2 separate regions of the Homo sapiens genome follow, and region 1 is linked to region 2. The links are contacts of gene promoters, found by promoter capture Hi-C in human tissues and cell types (Jung and others, 2019). All regions are on one chromosome and are shown on one strand. The core of a region is centred on a gene start or on the middle of the fragment in contact, and the rest is flanking DNA. Distances in the headings are between cores, read along the strand shown. Region 1 overlaps MYO9B (myosin IXB). Region 2 holds the start of CPAMD8 (C3 and PZP like alpha-2-macroglobulin domain containing 8).

The links. Contacts are between HindIII fragments. The study calls those that stand out against the background at their distance.
Region 1: a fragment that was not itself captured here is called in contact with the fragment with the promoter of CPAMD8 in region 2 in 8 of the 25 tissues and cell types used here (H1 embryonic stem cells, bladder, dorsolateral prefrontal cortex and 5 more).

Annotation. Positions count from the first base shown.
Region 1 is chr19:17,166,590-17,170,630 of GRCh38, forward strand. It overlaps MYO9B (myosin IXB), which reads left to right. Exons shown (of 40, transcript NM_004145.4): 11 at 1,354-1,475. Among named protein-coding and RNA genes, the nearest start is that of USE1, 47 kb to the right of the region's middle. The HindIII fragment of the contact is 6,459 bases long and covers 1-4,041 here.
Region 2 is chr19:17,024,648-17,028,411 of GRCh38, forward strand. It overlaps CPAMD8 (C3 and PZP like alpha-2-macroglobulin domain containing 8), which reads right to left and starts at 2,163. Exons shown (of 42, transcript NM_015692.5): 1 at 1,904-2,163. The coding sequence starts at 1,995. RefSeq lists an enhancer at 2,335-3,243. The HindIII fragment of the contact is 4,679 bases long and covers 144-3,764 here.

The DNA.
Region 1 (4,041 bases), core at 742-3,241, 140 kb after region 2:
TTCATCACCCAGGTATTAAACCTAGTACCCACTAGTTATTTTTCCTGATCCGCTCACTCCTCCCACCCTCCACCCTCCAATAGGCCCCAGTGTGTGTTGTTCCCCTCTATGTGTCCATGTGTTCTCATCATTTGGCTCCCTCTTATAAATAAGAACATGCAATATTTGGTTTTCTGTTCCTGCATTAGTATGCTAAGGGTAATGGCCTCCAGCTCCATCCATGTTCCTGCAAAGGACATGACCTCATTCCTTTTTTATGGCTGGGTAGTATTCCTTGATGTATATGCACCACATTTGCTTTATCCATTAGTGGGCATTTAGATTACTTATTTGTTATTGTGAATAGTGCTGCAAAGAACACACACATGCAGATACATTTATATGTAAACATGCCTATTGATACATAAATATGTTCCTACAGTGTGGGGATCCCTTATCCAAACTGCTTGGGAGCAGAAGTGTCTCAGGTTTGGGATTTTTTTCAGATTTTTCAATATTTATATTATACTTACTGGTTGAACATCCCAAATCTGAAAATCCAAAATCTGAAATGCTTCAATGAGCGTTGTCTTTGAGCATCACATAACATTGGCAGTCCAAAAGTTTTGGATTTTTTTTTTTTTTTTTGAGATGGAGTCTTGCTATATTGCCCGGGCTGGTCTCAAACTCCTGGACTCAAGCCATCCTCCAGCCTCAGTAAAGTATTTTTTACTTTTTATTTTTTGCACAGACAGGATCTTGCTATGTTGTCCAGGCTGGTCTTGAACTCCTGGCCTCAAGCGATCCTACCACCTTGGCCTCTCAGTTACTTTTTATGTCAGTTACATGTTAACATGATCACATTTTGGATATATCATGTTAAATTAAGTGTATTATTAGAGCTATTTTTTTTTTTTTTTTTTTGTGACGGAGTTTCGCTCTTGTTGCCCAGGCTGGAGTAGGACTAATGGCGCAATCTTGGCTCACTGCAACCTCCACTTCCCGTGTTCAAGCGATTTTCCTGCCTCAGCCTCCTGAGTAGCTGGGATTACAGGCTTGTGCAACCACGCCTGGCTAATTTTGTATCTTTAGTAGAGATGGGATTTTGCTATGTTGGTCAGGCTGGTCTCAAACTCCTGACCTCAGGTGATCCACCTGCCTTGGCCTCCCAAAGTGCTGGGATTACAGGCGTGAGCCACTGTGCCCAGCCCTATTAGAGTTAATTTTAAGCCACGCATCAGTTTAAAAAGTTTCCTATTTTGAAGCATTTCAGATTTTCGGATTAGGGATACTCGACCTGTATGCAATATATGTTATGTAGATATTACATATCTGGGAGATAAGAAACTTACCGACCCCGCGCCACCCCTGCAGGAGGAATATCAGGGCGAGGGGATCACGTGGCACAACATCGGCTACACAGACAATGTCGGCTGCATCCATCTCATCAGCAAGAAACCCACGGGCCTCTTCTACCTGCTGGACGAGGAGAGCAAGTGAGTGTCCACACCCCGTCCATCCCGGCACATCTACGCATGGGCACTGGGTCAGGTTCTGCAGCCCCCAGAGCCTTACCCCAAATCCAGACTTTCCCAAGAGCGCCTTTTTATTTTTGAGACAGGGTCTCACTCTGTCACCCAGGCTGGAGTGTAGTGGTGCAATCAAAGCTCACTGCAGCCTTGACCTCCTGGGCTCAAGTGATCCCCTGACGTGAGCCTCTGGAGTAGCTGGGACTACAGGGTCACACCACCATACCCGGCTAATTTTTGTATTTCTTTGTAGCAACAGGGTTTCGTCATGTTTTCCAGGCTGGTCTTGAACTCCTTAGCTCAAGGGATCCTCCCGCCTTGGCCTCCGAGAGTACTGGGATTACAGGCGTGTGCCACCACGCCAGACCTTGTGCTGAGAACTTGTGTCTGTTCATTTCACTTGACCACAAAACCCAAGCTCGTGTGTGCAAAATGCACAAACACCTCATTGTGAAAACATCAACACGTGTGATTAATTCGTGCACTTGAGGCACATCCGCCAGGAGTTTTCAGCAAAGGATTATGGGCCTATGCCTAGAAACTAGACACTGGGGCCAGACGTGGTGGGGCATACCTGTGGCCCCAGCTACTCAGGAGGCTGAGACAGGAGGATCACTTGAGCCTGGGAGGTTGAGGCTGCAGGGAGCTGTGATCGTGTCACTGCACTCCAGCCTGGGCAATGGAGCAAGAGACAGGATTGGCGAGTTGTTACAAAGGGCAGTGCAGTGTGTGGAATTGGGACCCAGATGCTGCTGGGCTCTGGTCTCACTTCTGAGCCTTCCTCCCTCATCCCCACAGTCCACAGGGCGCTGTGAAGGCAGACAGGTCAATAAGGCACCTCATTCTGGGTCACCCAGTTGTAGTCACTGAAATCACGTGACACATACCGAACTACTTTCCTGTGGCTCCTCTAAGGAACCGCTACAAGCCAGGTGGGCTCTTGAGCCCAGGAGATCAAGACCAGCCTGGGCAACACAGAAAGATTCCACCTCGGCCAGGCACAGTGGCTCACGCCTGTAATCCCAGCACTTTGGGAGGCCGAGGCAGGCGGATCACCTGAGGTCAGGAGTTGGAGACCAGCCTGGCCAACATGGTGAAGCCCCGTCTCTACTGAAAATACAAAAATTAGCCGGGCATGGTGACAGGCGCCTGTAATCCCAGCTACTCAGGAGGCTGAGGCAGGAAAATTGCTTGAACCTGGGAGGCGGAGGTTGCAGTGAGCGGAGATCACTCCATTGCACTCCAGCCTGGGTGACAGACCAAGACTCTGTCTCAAAAAAAAAAAAAAAAAAAAAGATTCCATCTCTACAAAAAAATTTTTAACCAGCCTGGCCAACATGGCAAAACCCCATCTCTACTAAAAATGCAAAAATTAGCCAGGCATGGTGGCGGGTGCCTATAATTCCAGCTACTTGGGAGGCTGAGGCAGGAGAATTGTTTGAACCCGGGAGGTGGAGTTCTTAAAACCACAGTAATCTATTCTCTTATGGTTCTGGAAGCTGGAAGTCTAAAGTCAAACTGTCAGCAGAGCTGTGCTGCCTCCAGAGGCTCCAAGGGAGGACCCTTTCTTGCCTCCTCCAGCTTCTAGGGGTCCAAGCTTTCCTTGGCTTTTGGCCACATCACTCCAGTCCCTGCCTCCCTCTTCCTCTTCACATGGACTTCTTCCCTCTGTGTCTGCATCATTCATCTCAATCCTGTCTCCTCCTTTTTTTTTTTTTTTTTTTTTTTTTTTTTGAGACAGGCTCTTCTTGCTCTGTTGCCCAGGCTGGAGGGTAGTGGCGCCATCTTGGCTCAAGTTAATTGGCGTCATCTCAGCTCACTGTAACCCCCACCTCCCAGGATCAAGCGATTCTCGTGTCTCAGCCTCCCGAGTAGCTGGGATCACAGGTGCCTTGCCACCATGCCCAGCTAATTTTTGTATTTTTAGTAGAGATGGGGTTTTTTCACCATGTTGGCCAGGCTGCTTAAAAATTTTTTTTTGTAGAGATGGAATCTCCCTGTATTGCCCAGGCTAGTCTTGAACTCCTGGGCTCAAGCAGTCCTCTCACCTTGACCTCCCAAAGTGCTGGGACCATAGGTGTGAGCCATTACACCTGACCCTGTCTTCTGTTTTTAGAAGGACACCATCCATATGGAACTAGGTCCCACGCTAATGACCTCATCTTAACTAATTACATCTCCAAAGACCCTATTTTCCAAATAAGGTCACATTCAAAAGTTGGTGGTATGGGGTTAAGATATGGACATATTGTCTTATCAGCAGCTCTATCAGACCCATCCCTTGCCAATGACATCTCCAAGGGGCTGGCCAGAGACTCAAATGAATGAGGCACATCCCCTGCCTCAAACCTAGTCCCTGTCCAGGTCAGGGAGACAGACACATCCCTCTGAGGCTGGGGTCCAGGTAGAGAATGTTCAGATAAGAGCATTTGTGCCAGGTGCGGTGGCTCCCACCTGTAATTCCAACACTTTGGGAGGCCGAGGTGGAGGATCATTTGAGACCAGGAGTTAAAGACCAGCCTGGGCACCATAG
Region 2 (3,764 bases), core at 913-3,412:
AATTAAGTTTCCCTGCCATTCAGAAGTTGCAGCTGTTTCCAGCTGTTGGGATGCTTGCCAGCCATTCACTGTCACACCTGACCCACCCCTAGCATCTGGGCCAACACTGCTTCTCATCCTGCTGGTCTCAGAAGGTCCCAGATTGGGGAAAGGGATGTCTGGGTCAGTGTAGACAGAATTGCTCTTACAACTGCAAACTGTGCTGCTTTCTGGGATCAGAGATTCCTCACACAAAAATCTCTCAGGTGACAGAAGTGGGCATCCAGAGCTATTCCTAAGACGAGATCCTTTGGGCTGGGTGAACCATGCCCCTGGCTTAGAGGCCAGCTAATCTGGAATCCCAGGTCGGTCATTTGGGGACATCTCTTCCCCAGTGTGTCTCTCAGCACAGGGATTCCATGTCACTTAACAGATGGTAAGATCACAGGGTGACTTTAGTCAGAGGAAAACGCCCTGGAGAACTGTTTAAAACTCTCTAACGGGCCAGGCACGGTGACTCACGCCTCTAATCCCAGCACTTTGGGAGGCGGAGGTGGGTGGATCACCTGAGGTCAGGAGTTCCAGAACAGCCTGGCTAACATGGAGAAACCCCATCTCTATTAAAAATACAAAAAATTAGCCGGGTGTGGTGGCACACGCCTGTAATCCCAGCTACTCAGGAGGCTGAGGCAGGAGAGTCATTTGAACCTGGGAGGCGGAGGTTGCAGTAAGCCAAGATCGTGCCATTGCACTCCAGCCTGGGCAACAAGAGTAAAACTCCATCTCAAAACAAAAACAAAAACAAACCCCAAAAACAACAAACAACAAACAAAAACCTCTGTATAAGGCAGGGTCTCTCATTGGAGCCAAGGTCTGTCATGTGGGGCCGCGTCATTCCTTGCAGTGGAAGCTGACCTGCACATCGAAAGCTGTTTACCAGCATTCCTGGCCTGCACCCACTTAATGCCAACACCAAATGCCTCTCCCTATTTGTGACAACCAAAAATACCTCCAGACATTTCCCAGCGGCCTCAGGGAGACAAAAATCCCCCCCAGGGCTGAGAACCACTATTCTAAGGGATGCCAGCTTTGAAAGAAGCATTAGGATGAAAATTTGTAGGGTTCCGATTTCACGAAGCCTAGGAGAGGGAAGTCTGGATGCTCAGAGCGCAGTAGACTGTCTTGCTTTTAAAACTGTGACCAGCAAGGACCAACTACTCACTGCAAATAACGACACCCACCTAGTCTCACTGCTTACCAGTTTTCTGGAAACTCCTAAACAAGGGCTGCTTGAACAAGCCGCCTTCTAAACGCCCAGCTGGACTAAAAGGCTGGTCTTGTGCAGACCAGGGCAGCCCCCCTGAACCCGCAGCCCTGCAGAGCTCACCCGAACTTGCCAGGTTTAGAAATATTCTCTGTGAAGCCAACTTAGCAGTACTCCCCAGCAGTTAGTTAATTCACCTTCTCCCCGCTGTCAACCCACCAGAAGCCTGCAAGCAAACCTCTAGAAAAATGTAGAAGCAAAACAAACACTTCCTCCTCCCTCACCACGCCCACCCACGGGAAAGTGCCCCTTCGCACTCTCCTCCCACTTCTCAGCCAAGACGCTCCTCTTACCTTCATACCTTGGACAACTGGAAATCGCCACCCATGATGACAGCCCGGGTCACACGAAGGGGGCGAGGTGGGGCGGGGGGAGCTGACCTCAGCACCTTTAGCTTTTGGGAGTCCCTGTACCTCCACAGAGCCACTTCGGAAACTTTAGGGCGCCCCCTCCTCAAGACGATTCGGGAACAAGAGGCCAGGTCCAGCCCAGCGCGGAGGCTGTGTGGCCTTGGGCAGGTCGCTGCAACACTCTGAGCCAGTACCCGCGACCCCCACCCCAGAAGGCGACCGACCTCCTCTGTCGCCGGAGGATACTCACGGGGCCTGAGGCTGCGCGGCGCGCACGCCGTCCCGCGCCGACAGCAGCAGGAGCAGGAGCGGGAGCAACGGCCAGAGCAGGGCGCCGCTCATTTTTCGGCTCCTGGGGGGCGCCGCGCCTGGGGAGGGGGCCGGGCCAGGGCTGGGCCAGGGCCAGGGTCCGAGCGCGGCCGTCCTCGCGCCGCCGCCGGGGGCCCTTTGTTCGCAGCCCCCGCGCAGTGCGCCCGGCGCCATGCGCCCCGCTCCGCGCCCGGCCAAGCTGGGGCAGCCCCGGGCCAGCCCCCTCCCCGGACCCGCCTCGTCTCCGGGACCGCCCCGCTCGCCCCGCTCGCCCCGCTCCTGGGCGCACCCTCCCGGGACGCCTGCTCCGCCCATCTCCGGACCCCGACCCGCCCCGATCCCTTCCGGGGATCGTCCCCTCACTTACTCACCGGACCCACCCGGGCCCTGCCCGATTCCTTCCGAACCCGCCTCCTCACCCCCTACCCGGATTCGCCCCCGGATGCCCCCCTCCCCACCAGCCCCGCCTCGGACCCGACCCCCCACCGCCCCCACTCTCCCTCTCCTCTCCACCCAGCGTCCACTCGGAACCTGTCCCTTCCCTGGCCTCTCCCTCCCTCCCTCCCCAGCCAGCCCCTTATGGCCCCCTCCCCGGGCCCGCCCCTCACCAGGGGCCCCTGGGTCTGGACGCCGCCTGCAACCCCGATCCCACAGGCGCCGCCGTGCCCTAAGCCCTGGCCTGTATCTAGTGCCCAGTGCAGTGCGTACAGCCCAAGGAGCAGAGGACCCTTTGGGGAAACAGTCTAGCCAGGGGTCGAACCTCCCAGACTCACATCTGCCCCAGGTCCCTATCTGTGCTCTCTGCTCCCCTCTCCCCCACCCCCACTGTCCACAAATCCCTTGGGCCCGTCCCCTCTCTCGCTGGGCCTCAGAGTCCCCCTTTCCCCTTCATACAGCAGGGGTGGATGGGCACCCCCTTTCTCTCCAAGAGCAGGGTGTCCCCTCCTGCCCCTCCCCGTGTGGCCACCTCAGTGATGGTCCTGCTGTCCTAGGTCCCACTGGCAGGCGGCACATCCTATACCATGTCCAAGTCCTGGACCCCCTCCTTCCAGTGTGGAACCCCCTTCCCCCAGCTACCAACTGCCCTTCTTCTAAAATTCCAGTGCTGACCACACCCCCTCCTGCCCGGAATCCTCGGGGCTCCCTGTTTATTTTACATTTTATTTTTATGTTTTGAGACCAGAGTTTTGCTCTGTTGCCCAGGCAGGAATTTAGTGGTGCAGTCACAGCTCACTGCAGCTTCAGACTCCTGGAGAGTAGCTGGGACTACAGGTGCAAGCCCGCACCCAGCTAATTTTTATATATTTTTTTTTAGAAACGGAGTCGCACTGTGTTGCCCAGGCTGGTCTTGAGCACTGGGCTCAAATGATCCTCCCTCCTCAGCCTCCCAAAGTGCTGGGATTACAGGTGTGAGCCACCACATCCAGCCAGGGCTTCCCGTTTATTGAGACCAAATCTAAACTCTGGCTTTGATGGCAGAGACCTCAGCCTAGTTCCTCCAACACCCTGTTCTTACTCCACTGCCTGCTTCTGCCTAATCTCTGTCTTCCTCTACCTGCCTCCTTTGCCAGTCCAACTCCTGATCCTTCCAGGAAACTCAAGGGAAGCTTCTCTTGCCCCCTCCCTGCCCCTAGGGATGTGGGTCCTCTGGGGGCTTCTCAGCCCTGTCAACAGCCTTTGGACCCAACACTGATCACCCAGGCAGCACCAAGCCCTGGGCTGGGCAATGAGGACCCTGGGACATACAGGACCTGCTGCCACTGAGCACACAACCCAGAGGGGACGTAACTGATGATGGTGTG